2 separate regions of the Homo sapiens genome follow, and region 2 is linked to region 1. The links are contacts of gene promoters, found by promoter capture Hi-C in human tissues and cell types (Jung and others, 2019). All regions are on one chromosome and are shown on one strand. The core of a region is centred on a gene start or on the middle of the fragment in contact, and the rest is flanking DNA. Distances in the headings are between cores, read along the strand shown. Region 1 holds the start of ZNF667 (zinc finger protein 667). Region 2 holds the start of C19orf18 (chromosome 19 open reading frame 18).

Region 1 (6,895 bases), core at 963-3,462:
ATCCCTTTACCCTGCTTTACTTTTCAAAGTACCTATCAGCACCTATTATAGACTTTATTTTTGTCTCTCCTACTAAATGCAAGTTCCAGCTGAGTAAAAACCTTGCCTGTTTTGTTGAGAGACTAGCACAGTGCCCAATCCATGGTAGGCACTCACTGGCTGAATGAATGAATGCATCTCGGAGCTTACCCGGGCTGCAGGCCGTTTCTTCTCATCTCAGAACACTATCCTTTTATCATCTCTCCGTGCCCCGCCTTCCCCAGCTCCCTTACTCTTCTCCCTGTCATCATGCCTTCGGTCTGTCCATGCGCTTGCATCACGGTCCTCTCAATCAGAGTGATTTTGCCCCTGCAGGGGACATCTGACAGTGTCTGGAGACATTTTTTTTTCGCTTGTCACAACCCAGAGGGAGGCGCGGTGTGCTACTGGCCTGGTAAATAGAGCCCAGGGTTGCTGCACAACATCCTATAATACATAGAATAGCAGCCCCTCCCACCTCCCAACAAAAAACTATCTGGCCCCAAATGTCACAGTGCCAAGGCTGTGAAACACTGGTCTGGACAGAAACATTTCCAGACCCATGTGTTATATGGAAACATCCCTTAGTCCCTGACACTTCAAAGTTCTGTTCTTGACCCCATGGGCTCCCTAGGGACATCTCCATCAGGAAGATCCTTTGTTCCTGACCCCACCTCCTCTACCCTAATGCTGCCCTCCCAGGACCCTGCCTACACAATTCTGAACCTAAGCCCTGATCTAGACGTCCAAGTTATTTTACCTCTGGACCTGCAACCCTTACTCTGGGGCTCATCCTTTTGCATTTCTACCTATGGATTTTATTCTCCAGGTGTGGGACGCCTGCGGTTATTATGCTAATAATAAAACGATGATCATTGATGTGGCACTTCCTTGTGCCAAGTTCTACTTATGCTCACCATAAACCTGAGGTTGGTTCTGTTATTACTACTGTTTTACAAGTGAACCGAGGAGTGGTGGACTTAAGTAAGCTCTCTCAGTCACACAGCCAGCCAGTGGTGAAACCAGGAGTCAACACCAGACAGCGGGGCGCCACAGTCCATGCTCTTATTTTTCCAAGCTACCTTGGTAGGAAGGGGACACAACCATACTTAGCGTCAGTGGAGGGCTCTGTCCTCCACTCAAATGTACACATGCAGAAAACTGACGACGCAGGTGGTTGGCGGGGGCAGCGCACCACTGCTCAACTGGAGATGGTCAGATGCCCTGGTATGTGGACAAAGATAGCCCAGTCCGAAGCTCAGAGATGCAAAGTCCTCCAGTATTCACCACTACCTCTGCCTCTGTATAGGGTCAAAGAAAAACGACCACCAGCACCATAACCAACACCTAAACACGGTGATTAGTATGTGACAAGCTCTGTGCAGGGTGTTTCAGCTACGTCATCCCATTTAATCTTCCCAATAACACCCAGGCAGGTGCTATTAATATGCTATTTTACCAAGGAGGAAAGTCATGCACAATTAAACAGTTCCACAGATTTCCAGGGCAGCCCATCACATCTTAGAGCTGCTAAGAATTCTTCCCCTGTGGGCCTCCATTTCCATGGTTACAGTGAGATATACACCAGAAAGGCACAGTCACACACTCATAACCGCAAAGCCACTGACGCTAAGTGGCAGACAGACGCCCAGGCAAGTCACACAGTAACCCAAGGCTACAATAAACGCCCACATCAGCCTGACACTGACACACGCACACACTCCAGAAACACAAATCTTCACAGTCAGCGTCACACACCCACTCCCGGCTTCCCAATGGCTCCATTGTTTCCTTCGCGTGGGTCACGCAGCGATACACATCCGCGGTCCCGACATAGCTCCCTCACACACAGGCACACACGGCTCGCCTCACACGCGGCGCCAACTTCACACTTGGGCGCACAAGCCCCGAGAACCACAGCAGCGAAGGGCGCAAACCCCACGCCGTGGCGGGCCGAGAACCCACGCAGGCGCGAGCCCACCGCCCACGCAAGCACCCGCGCAGACGCCCACGCCATCGTGGATGCGCAAACCCACGCGCGCCTTGGCAGGAACGTCCACGCAGTGGCGGGCGCGCCGCCCACGCCCTCAGACACACCCACACTCTCGCCAGCCCCCTTACCTCGGTCTTCCCGGGCTCAGACCCCGGCGGCGACCACCGAGACAGCCGAGCAGGGACTCAGCGCCTGCGCACTCCCCTCCGGGACCCCGGGACCGCGCGCTGCACCCCCCTTCACACACGCACCACGCATGCGGGCGCGTGGCCCCGCCCCCAAACAAGGCCACGCGGCGTGCGCTCACCCGCCTCTCGGGGACAGTACCACCAGCCCCGGCCTGAGGCCCCGACCCCTCAGCGCCACACGCACAAGCGCGTTCGCACGATTGGTGCAGGCGGACGCGCGAGGTCCCGCGCCTGCGCACACCCCCGAGGCTGGCACGCACACCGGTCTCCTAGGGGACTGGCGCCTGGCCCTGCTTTTCATCCTCTCAGGAGATCACGTGTGGACACTGAGGCCCTTCCTCGAGCTCTTTAACCAAACCCAACCTCCCCAATTCGCCGCCTTCCCCGCTCCCACAACCACACGTTCCCGTGTGAGGGCTTATTGCCTCCAGCCAGCCAGCGTCCTTCGCCCCCACATTCACGAGGTTTGGAGCCGGCCTCACCCGCGGAGGCGGACACCGCCCACCCGCGCGTGCGCACTACGCAGTCATCCTGCGACCTCCAGAATCCACCGGGGTGCAGCGAGGCTGTGGAAAGTCCCACCCAGAACGTGAGGTGAAGAAGGCTTGGGCTGCGCTGGTTCTGCTCTGTCCGGGTCGGAGATGAACTGACCCGGGAGAGCAGCGGAGGGATGTTTCTTTTGGCCAACAGTGGGGACTCACCTGCACGTTTTGCGAAGAGGCCCACAGTCCTTTGCGTGGCGCTCGGACTACATTTCCCAACGGCCCCTGCACGCCCTGGGGGCTGTTCCATGCGGTGTTGCGCCTGCGTAGCCGGCGGGCTGGCAGTGAGACTGACTGCGTCGGGGTTGAGACTGGGTGGATGAGGCTCACCCCGGCGGGGAGAAGGGACGAGGAGGGGCGGACAGCGGAAGGTCCGGGAGTGTCCGCCATAAAGTCGTTTGAGGTGACCGTTGCGTAATTGTGAGTCTGTGAGAGAAGATGTGAAGTATGGCCTCGTCCCGGTCATCTGGGCGTGCGGGTCCCGGGTTTTGATCGCGCGTTTGTGTAGGTGAGACCCACATTGTGTTACCCTGAACATGTGTGAGGACGAACCTTTGTGTTTTCTTATACGTGTGTCTCTGAGGCGATTTTTGTGGTTTTGTACGTGGCGGGGGGCACTGATTTTGAATATGTGTGTATGTTCTGGACATTTGTTTAGCTTCTGCATCCACTTCTGCGGAAGGGCAGAGTTGAGTAGGTGGGAACAGGTACTGTGTGGCCCCACAAAGCCTGAACTATTTACTGTTGACTCTAGAGCCCAGTTTTTGCGGTGTGTACGTCTCTGTGGGGAACCACACATTTTGAATATGTATACTTGTGTATATTTACGTCTATTCTATGACTGCTTTTGCACAATGGCAGGGTTCAGTACTTGCAGCAGAGATCTTGTGGCCCATAAAGCCTAAAATACTATCCGACTAAGGTTTCGAGCCGTAGCCAGTTTTTGTGGATGAGTGTTGTGTGTGTGTGGGAAGCCAGTGATTGATTGATTGATTGATTGATTTGGGACGGAGTCTCGCTCTGTCGCCCAGGCTGGAGTGCAGTGGCGCGATCTCGGCTCACTGCAACCTCCGCCTCCAGGTTCAAGCCATTCTTCTGCCTCATCCTCCCTAGTAGCTGGGACTACAGGCGCCCGCCACCACGCCCGGCTAAGTTTTTTGTATTTTTAGTAGATTCGGGGTTTCACCATGTGGGCTCTTGACCTCGTGATCCGCCCGCCTCGGCCTCCCAAAGTGCTGGGATTACAGGCGTGAGCCACCGCGACCGGCCAAGGAAAGCCAGTGTTTTTGACTCTGTGTGTGTGTACCCGCCTGTGTGTTGAGACCCAGTTTTTGTAGTTGCATAGGTGGGTATATGTGTGAGGGGAACCCAGGGCCTGTGATTTCTTTCTTCCCAGGTGACTCTGAGCAAGTTTTGGGGACTAGGTAGTAGGGAGAATGTGTGAGGAACTAGTTTTGGTTTCCCATTTCTGTGATTAGGTAGTAGCAATAATAAAAATAAAAGCTAACAGATACTACTATTAGGACTTTTACCATTACCTCTGTGACTAGCAGCTAGCACTTACTGATTGTTGTCCCTGGTCAAAAGTGAATTTTTCCATTTAAGGTTTTCTTTAATCCTGTAAGCCGTTCTCTGAGTTGTTCCTTGGAGCAAGTTTCTTTCTAGACTGGAGATTGTTCTAAATACCTGGTAATACTAGAATAAGGGGTGTGGTCAAGAGATCCAAGAAATCTTAGGATAAATCTGTCACTTGGCAGTTTCTTTGTTTTCTTTAAACCACCTCCCAAGAAAGTATGTCATCCTTTCTGCTGTTTTAGGGGCATGTTAGTGCGAAAATCTGGGAAAAAGCTTTATGCCTCAGACTGTCCTAGTTCAGAGAAACCAGAGTGTGTGGGTCGGATGTCTTGGCTCCTGATCAGGCTCTGTTGTGCCCATTCTCCGAATAAAGCAACTATCTCCCAAGACACCCATGAGTTTTCTAAGACAGTTTGTCCCAGAGCCCAGGTCCAGAATCTAGTCCTGGTCTTGGATTTGGTCAGACCTTCCCTCACTCTCACCTCAGGACTCCCCACCACTTCCCCCCCTGCCCCAGGAACCCATGGGAATTACAGGCATAAATTAAATACCTGATCCTATGACAGCTCCAGAGTATCTGGAATCTTTTTTTTTTTTTTTTGAGACAGTGTCTTGCTCTGTCGCCCAGGCTGGAGTGCAGTGGCGTGATCTCTGCTCACTGCAAGCTCCGCCTCCTGGGTTCAGGCCATTCTTCTGCCTCAGCCTCCCGAGTAGCTGGGACTGCGAGTGTCCATCACCACACCCAGCTAATTTTTTTGTACTTTTAGTAGACACGGGGTTTCACCTTGTTAGCCATGATGGTTTCACTCTCCTGACTTCGTGATCTGCCCGCTTCAGCCTCCCAAAGTGCTGGGATTACAGGCGTGAGCCACCACGCCCAGCCCAAGATTTAATTTGTTAAAAAAAAAAAAAAAAAAAAAAAAAGTAGGGTAAAGACGCTAGAAAGTCTAGAGAGGAAGGAGGGATTATTTTACACAGGATGGTCAGGGGAGGCCACTTTGATAGGTGGCATTTAGCAGTGAGGCTTCCTGAACTCAGCATGACTGCTCCGCTTGGCTCAGATTCCAGCTCTGTCCACTGTAGTTGAGGAATTATCCCTAGACAGAGAATGGGGAGATAAAGAGGCTCAGCTTGTTAACAGGTTCCCCTCTCACATGAATCTTTTGTCCACTGCCTCAAAACTGCCCCGATATAGTTTAATTTCGTAGTATGCTATTGTGTCATGCTGCAACTCTTTCAGCTCCAAAAGGGATGGCACCAGGTTCAAGAGGCTGAAGAAGAGACTCAGATCCAGGAAATGAGGCATAGGTTATATGTGAGATGGAACTTACATACAGAGTGGTCCAGTGGTGGTAGGCTGAACAGGAGAACTGCCACCGCCTGCAGAAAGCATGGACTTTGTATAGCATTTTCACTTAATACTCTCCTCCTAACAGCATCCACATGGCAACCCTCATTTAACCCAAGACAAAGAGCCTCAGCCCCCATAGGGCCAGCGTTCCACAGGACAGGCCAGGGACTCATTTAACCCAAGACAAAGAGCCTTAATCCCCTATAGGGCCCACGTTCCACAGGACAGGCCAGGGACTCAGGCATTTATCATAGATAAAGATGAATCTCCATGTTGGTCATATTTGGAACTCCGAACATGTATTCAGGTGCGTCTGCCATGCTGGGTCATTTTCAGAGTATGCTTAAGTTATTGCTATCAGTGTCTACCATACACAGTTGGATCTACCATACATAGTTGCATCTGCCATATGCTATGATAGGAAGACTTGTCTAGTACAAGCTTCTGTATCATAGCCCATAGCAGAACTCATATTTGTGAGTATTGTTTGAAGGGATTAAGCAGAGAGAATTGAGTCAGGATATCACTGGGGAGGTATACAGTTTATTTGTGGGATTTCAAGGGCCTGAATTGTGACAACAGAATAAAGTTCTTGTGGGAGAAATATTTTCAGAGGATTTGAGAGCATGGTGTTGAAGAGTTAAGGAAACAGCATATATCTTTTCGTGCTAGATGCTTACATGCAAATGAATCTCCTTATGCTGTCACAAATGTATGCTTCTCTCTCCCTCCCTTTCACTTATCAGTCACATCCCACTAGTCCTGGAGCTTCTCCTACCCTGAGGTCAGGCATGAACCCTGGTGTGTAGTTTTGCTCAAATGCTTACGATCGATAACCCAGTTGTGCACCAGGTTTCTTTATATCTTGAAGTTATCTACTGAACACATGAAAAATAAATTCAGCAAATTATAGAAACTACGAGACACTGCTGTCTACCCTTTGACAAACATTTACTCAGTGTTGTGTGCTGGCTTATTTGCATTGTGTTTTGCAAAAGTCTTAAAATCACAGTCATATCTAGGTTTTTTTCAAGCAATTCTCCTGCCTCAGCCCCCTGAGTAGCTGGGATTACAGGCACCTGCCACCATGCCCGGCTAATTTTTGTATTTTTAGTAGAGACAGGGTTTCACCATGTTAGCCAGGTTGGTCTTGAAATCCTGGCCTCGATGGTATACACATTCCTATGGAAGGCAAGCATTATCTTGTGAGGTACATAGCTGATATGAT
Region 2 (6,895 bases), core at 2,459-4,958, 1.5 Mb after region 1:
TTGGGATTACAGGCATGAGCCTGTACTGCACCCGGACCATCAACTTTATTAGATAAACAATTTTGTCCCGTCTCTATCCTACCTACAACTGGGACCTGAAGCTCAGGGGTGGCAGAGGTCTCAGTGACCTTCTAGCACCAGCACACAAAACGAGCTAGTGTCAAAAGAAGGACCAGTGTGCAGGCCTTTGATACCCCAGCCAGGACTCAAGCTCTGTGCTTTGGTGATGGTGGTGTCAATGGGCAGGTGAAACAGTCATAGCTGAGCTTTAGGAAGATTGATAATGTGTTTGGCGTGGATGGATGTATTCATCACGTTTTTTATTTTCTGTATTTCCTGATACTTTGACATCTTGGGGCCTTAACTGACCCTTGAAGAGACTGCCCTCCCAGGTCCAGCCAATTCCTGAAGATAGTAAACCCTGGCCTGCAAGTGCACCTTTCATGTGCAAGCCGACACACCCAAAGCCTACACCCCAACAATCTCTATGGAGCCCTCATGCTCCAGGCCACCATCCCCTGCCCCCAACCACCCCAGGGCCAGGTCCCAGACAACCAGGGACATACCCCATGCCCCACAGCCACCAAATCACTCAAGCTGATCCCAAGCCCGCCTTCCCTACCTGCCTTCCTGTAAAAACCAGAATAAAGTTGTTTTTTTTAAAAAAGACAGCCTCGCTCTGTTGCCCAGGCTAGAGTGCAGCGACCCAATCTCAGCTCACTGCAACCTCCACCTCCCAGGTTCATGCGATTCTCCCGCCTCAGCCTCCCAAATAGCTGGGATTACAGGTGCCCACCACCACTCCTGGCTAATTTTTGTATTTTTAGTAGAGATGGGGTTTCACCATGTTAGCCAAGCTGGTCTCGAACTCGTGACCTCAAGTGATTCATCCACCTCGGCCTTCCTAAGTGCTGGGATTACAGGGATGAGCCACCGCACCCGGCCCAGAATAAAGGCTTTTGCTCACACTTTCCTGGCTCCCTTTGCCTTCTGATAGACCCTGGTGCTTCCTTGTGTGGACTCCTGCTTCTAGGGACCCGTGAGTATCAGGCTTCTTCCTTCATGACAGTCATTTCTGTGTCTGCATGTCTCACTCAGCATATGTGATTAAATAAAATGCTGGCTACATGTGAAAGCAGTGGAGATGGGTAGGTGGTGGGGGAGCTGACTCAGAAGCCGCCCTGTTGCAGGCACTTAGCAAATGTGCAGAGGAGAAGGAAGGATGCTCTGGGGCGGGAGCAGCAGCAGGACACAAGGTGCCTTCTGCTTTGGAGGACTCTGAAGCGAGAGGTGTTGAGGAGGTTCCAGGACAAGCCACAGTGGGGAGAGTTGCTAGAAAGGCTGCTGACAGGGCCGCTGTGTGTGCCCATGCATTTTGTGTGTTCCACAAAGAGATCTCAGACACAGCCTGTGCTCTACTCACTACAACATCAGCCCGTGGAGTTGAGCCACCTTCTCACCTGCCCCAAGCGGTGTCACTGCGCATCCCCCTCCAGAGGGGGCACCTTGTCTAACACACATGAAGGCACCACGTGTGCAGGCTCCTTGGTGACCAGCCAGCACCCTCTGGAGCCACACATCACGACAGCTTCAGGAATGTTGCGGGTCCACCCGCCCTCCCAGATCCCTTGGCTTACCTTTATTCCTCAGGAATTTCATGGGGTTCGTAGGGGATGCAGCTAAAAGGCCATCAAAGGGGATCAAAAAGAAGAGACTTTAAGATGGTTTAAGATGAACTTGGGAAAACAAGGAAATAACTTAGCATTAGAGAAGGACGCCGAACACACAGCTTCCAAATATCTAAGATGGGATGTGTTAATACATTCCTCCCAATGCCTGGCAGCAATGTGTGGGTTAATTTGCAGAAGCCTGGTGAGCCTGCTGTTCTTTTTGCACCTGGTGCTTCCTGTCATGAAGAATGACCTTTAGGAACAGGATACTTTTGGTTTCTGGTCTCCTTTTGCAGTCATACAAGTTGGGAAATCTCTGCCCAAATTAAGGACCTGGAGAGACTTAGAGTTGAAGGGGCTACGACCTCATTAGAAGGTCAGCAAGGGTTGGGCACAGTGGCTCATGCCTGTAATCCCAGCGAGGAAGGCAGATCACGAGGTCAGGAGTTCGAGACCAGCCTGACCAACATGGTGAAACCCCGTCTCTACTGAAAATACAAAAATTAGCTGGGCATGGTGGCACGCGCCTGTAGTCCCAGCTACTCAGGAGGCTGAGGCAGGAGAATTGCTTGAACCCGGCGGTGGAGGTTGTGGTGAGCCGAGATTGCGCCACTGCACTCCAGCTGGGTGACAGAGTGAGACTCCGTCTCAAAAAAAAAAAAAAAAAAAAAAAAAAAAAAAAAAAAAAAAGGATCAGAGAGCCAGGCAGAGAGGCCAGGGAACCAACAATAGTGTCCTTTCCTCGGACACAAATTACATGCAAATGTATCACACAGACAGCATTTCCCTTGCATGGAATGGAGATTATTTACAAGCATCATATATCTCCACAAAGGGTTGCTGAGCTTCAAAGATTGTCGGGGTTGGTTTTGCTGTTATAAGATAAACAAACATCCTCTAGTACTCAAATTAGAAGGGAACCATAGAAAATGCTTATAAAGAATTCTCGGCTGGGCATGGTGGCTCATGCCTGTAATCCCAGCACTTTGAGAGGCCGAGGCGGGCGGATCATGAGGTCAGGAGATCAAGACCATCCTGGCTAACACAGTGAAACCCTGTCTCTACTAAAAATACAAAAAATTAGCTTGGCGTGGTGGCGGGTGCCTGTAGTCCCAGCTACTTGGGAGGCTGAGGCAGGAGAATGGTGTGAACCCAGGAGGTGGAGCTTGCAGTGAGCCGAGATCGCGCCACTGCACTCCAGCCTGGGCGACAGAGCAAGACTCTGTCTCAAAAAAAAAAAAAAGAAAAAAAAGAATTCTGTACACTCACAAACCTTCTGTGTCTAGACTTGCATGCTCTACTGCCAAATGTGCACCAAATTCAAGTCAGACAGGCATACCTGTGTAATCTGGATGGGATCAAGGTTTTTGTGTGCGCTTATTAAAGTGAAATGAAAAAGAGAAGAAAGTGGCAATCCCTAAAGAGAAAGCAGTTAACAGAGAGTGAAGAGCATAAGATCTAATTTCCAAGCAAATGTTTATCTAATTATACTCTATTTTATGGACCTTTCTACCAGCAAGCACACAGTACACATTCACATGGCAGATAAGAGGACTCCAGGCTACGATTCTCACTCCACTGAATGAGGAATTCAATGACTCACCCGTGGATCTCGAGGCAGCCCCTTGAATCCCAGGCAACTGGGTTTTATGAAAGAACACTTTGGGCTCTTTGGTGATGTTTCTGGGTGGTTGTGACCGTTTACTGCCTTGAAAAGAAAACTTTTTGCGGTGAAATGTAATTACCTTCTTTTTATCTCCCCTGAAACAGCTTTTCAATTCTCCCTGAGTCACATAAAACCAGTGGTTGAAGCTACCTGGTAAGCCTGTTATGTTTCCAGTGGGATGGAGTCCATCTGCATACGGCAAGCATAAATGAAGTTGGCATTCCATTAAAAACAAAAACAAAATGAGGAAACCACTCTGAACCTTGTCCATCACTCTCAAATTATCAGTATTTTATCCCGTAGATGAAAGGAAATACTTAGCTACAGTCCAGCATCTGTCCTCTATTTATCTGAGGAATCAAGAAGTTCTACTCCCTTCAGAATGTTTGGGCAGTGACTTGGAGCCACCAGTGTGAGGTCAGTCCTTGCTGTGATAATGGAGTTCCTTCATGGAACCATGCTGACCAATGGGGAGACTACAGTGTAAGAGGGCAGTGCTTGGAGGTGCAGGCATGATGAGACCAGGTCCCTGCCTGCAGTGTGCAGATTAGTGAGGAGGCAGAAAGAAATCAATTACAGTCAGCCCTCCGCATGCATAGTTCCCCATCCGTGATTTCCAACAACCTCACTTGGAAAATGTTCAGGAAAAAAGGAATGGGCACGGTGGCTCACGCCTATGATCCCAACACTTTAGGAGGTCAAGGTGGGCAGATCGCTTGAGGCCAGGAGTTCAAGACCAGCCTGGCCAACACAGTGAAAGCCCATCTCTACTAAAAATACAAAAATTTGCTGGGCGTGGTGGTGCACACCTGTAGTTCAAGCTACTTGGGAGGCTGAGGCATGAGAATCACTTGAACCCAGGAGGTGGAGGTTGCAGTGAGCTGAGATCATGCCACTGCACTCCAGCCTGGGCGACAGAGCAAGACTCTGTCTCAAAAAAATAAAACAACAAACACAAAAACAAAAACTAGCCAGGCATGGTGGCGTGTACCTGTAGTCCCAGATACTCGGGAGGCTGAGGCAGGAAGATCACTTGAGCCCAGAAGGCAGAGGTAGCAGTGAGCCAAAATCGTACCACTGCACAAAGAAAGAAAGAAAAGAAAGTGGAAGGAAAGCAGTCACCCTTAGAAGGGAGGCAATGTGCACAGGGGAGACCCACAGCAGGAAGGTAAAGGGGGACTCCTGATGACTGAAAGTGGGCCCTAGGCTTCAGAGATGGGAGGAATAGAAGACGGGCTCAAAAAAGGCAATGAACTATGTCATGTATGAGGGAGACAGAGGGGACCTGGGAGTGCTGGATGTTAGGGACCACTGAAATCAATACTGTCCAGGCTGTGCATGATAGGTGAGAGGAAGGGAATACTTCCAGGAAGAAGCAGAAGTCTGGGACTTTCTTTTGACTCGTGATGTGACCTGACCAACAGGAGGCCCTTTTTTTTTTTTTTTTTTTTTTTTGAGATGGAGTCTTGCCCTGTCACCCACACTGGAGTGCAGTGGCACAATCTTGGCTCACTGCAACCTCCACCTCCTGGGTTCAAACGATTCTCCTGCCTCAGCCTCTGGAACCGCTGGGATTACAGGCATCTGCCACCACACCCAGCTAATTTTTGTATTTTTAGTAGAGATGGGCTTTCACCATGTTGGCGGCCAGGCCAGTCTCGAACTCCTGATCTCATGATTCACCCACCTTGGCCTCCCAAAGTGCTGGGGTGACAGGAGTGAGCCACTGTGCCCTGCCAGGAGGCCCTTTAAGACATTAAAAAAACTCTTATCTGTTTAAACAGAGATGGGATCTTGCTACGTTGCAAGGCTGGCCTTGAACTCCTCAGCTCAAGCAATCCTCCTGTCCCTCCCAAAATGCTGGCATGAGCCTCGGTGCCCGGCCTAGAAATTTTTTCAAGATAATAATCTTAGTAATAAGGTTATAAGTTACCAGGATGCTTGTGGTATATTGCATATGACTTATGAAATCCTTTGGAATCTCTAAATCAGATAATTTGGATTCACTCTGGCTATTAGAATACAATATCCACATCCTACTGGTAGTATGATTCTGGATATATTATGCTGCTTTCTCCAAGATGAGATAATACTGCTAACTTCATTCTCTCCAAGGGCCTTTGCACAAATCATGTAAAAAAAAAATCCATCAATAACTAACTTGCCCCTGCCACATTTATCAGGTGACCACTAATGTGTCAGGCCTTGAAAGGACTACAATCAAATGTTACACACCTAAGTGAGCCCAAGCTAGAAGAGTCAGAAGGTGAAAATAACAGCCTCCCAATGACATCACTAGGCCATCATTTCTCAACCACTGGGAAGCCATGGGCCCTTTAAAAATTAGATGAGCTTTATGAGCCCAAGTTCCACTCAATACCCTTGAAGCCTATCCAGGAAGGATCCTTGGCCCCCAGTTTTAGAAATACTTATGAACTGGAGAGAAGCCACCCAAGTCTTCTGATCCATCTTTCCCCTTTTCCCCTGTGAACACTGAGACTTCATTACTCTAGGTGGACTGGCTAGCTCTCTTCCCTTCTGAATCCTGCTCCTTCAAGTAAGCCTTTCATCTGCAGAAGATTTCAAAAAAATAAAAGACCGAATTCAAGGTAAACCTTGGGTAATGGTGCTCTGAAGTGCAGTGGTGTCTAGTTATGGAAAGGAACAAACACCCCTGCCCTCTGCTCTGTAAGTGGCATTCTAAACCCACCAAGGGACTTGCCCAGTCCTCCAGCAAGTCCTCCAGGCCCTGCTGCCCTGTTATCCTTGGGGTTGCAGGCAGCAAAGTTCTAGGGAACTCAGGTCCCAGAAAATGCAGTGATTCTGAATGTCCAACACAGACTTCATATTCCAAAGGGATACTAGTTCTCATGTTACTATAAATCCTTCGAGACAGAGAAACCAGGTAACTTTATTTCTCATTGTTTAGGATTTTCTTTTTATTATCAAATCTCTGCTATAGAAACACTGAAGAAAATGGGAAAAAAAATCACTGGAGAGGCAGCATAAAATGGTGGCTGAAAACAAGAACTCTGGAGCCAATCTCAGCTCTACTCCCTTACTAGTTGTGCCCCTTAGGTAGGATCCTTCAACATCTCTGCTTCAGCTTAGCCATTTGTAAAACTGGGGTAACAGTACCTATCTCAGAGTAAAGGGGACTAAACAAGTTAACACTTGGAAAGCATTTAAAAGAAAGCCCAGCACATAAGTGTTATATGTATTTGTAAAACTTTTTAAAAATCTCAACTGGGTTAACTTTTCCATGGATCTTTCAGGTCCTTACCCATATACATTTTTTTAGATGTGTTACAGTAAGTATGTATATACAATTCTGTATCCTTTTTATTCCTTCATGTTATGTATACTGATGCAGTGTCCATAATTATAATTTATAGTGATTGCCTAAAACAAATTACAAACTAATTGCCCAACAATGCAGTGATGAGTAACAATGGACGCTGACACACTGGGCTAAGGATCACTTTCTGTCCAGCAACATCAGTCTCACACTCCTAGGCAATAACTTTTCTACCGTTAGTCATCTCATTCATTAATTTTC

What was found. The method cuts DNA at HindIII sites, captures the fragments that hold promoters and counts their contacts. A contact is called where the count stands out against the background at its distance.
Region 2: the fragment with the promoter of C19orf18 here is called in contact with the fragment with the promoter of ZNF667 in region 1 in 1 of the 25 tissues and cell types used here (dorsolateral prefrontal cortex).

The regions. Positions count from the first base shown.
Region 1 is chr19:56,475,133-56,482,027 of GRCh38, forward strand. ZNF667 (zinc finger protein 667) reads right to left here and starts at 2,213. Exons shown (of 7, transcript NM_001321356.2): 1 at 2,140-2,213. ZNF667-AS1 (ZNF667 antisense RNA 1) reads left to right here and starts at 2,742. Exons shown (of 2, transcript NR_036521.1): 1 at 2,742-3,249. The HindIII fragment of the contact is 11,770 bases long and covers 1-5,348 here.
Region 2 is chr19:57,970,826-57,977,720 of GRCh38, forward strand. C19orf18 (chromosome 19 open reading frame 18) reads right to left here and starts at 3,709. Exons shown (of 6, transcript NM_152474.5): 1 at 3,487-3,709; 2 at 3,274-3,378; 3 at 1,638-1,679. The coding sequence starts at 3,607. ZNF606 (zinc finger protein 606) reads right to left here. Exons shown (of 7, transcript NM_001348022.3): 7 at 6,251-6,895. The HindIII fragment of the contact is 10,862 bases long and covers 1-6,895 here.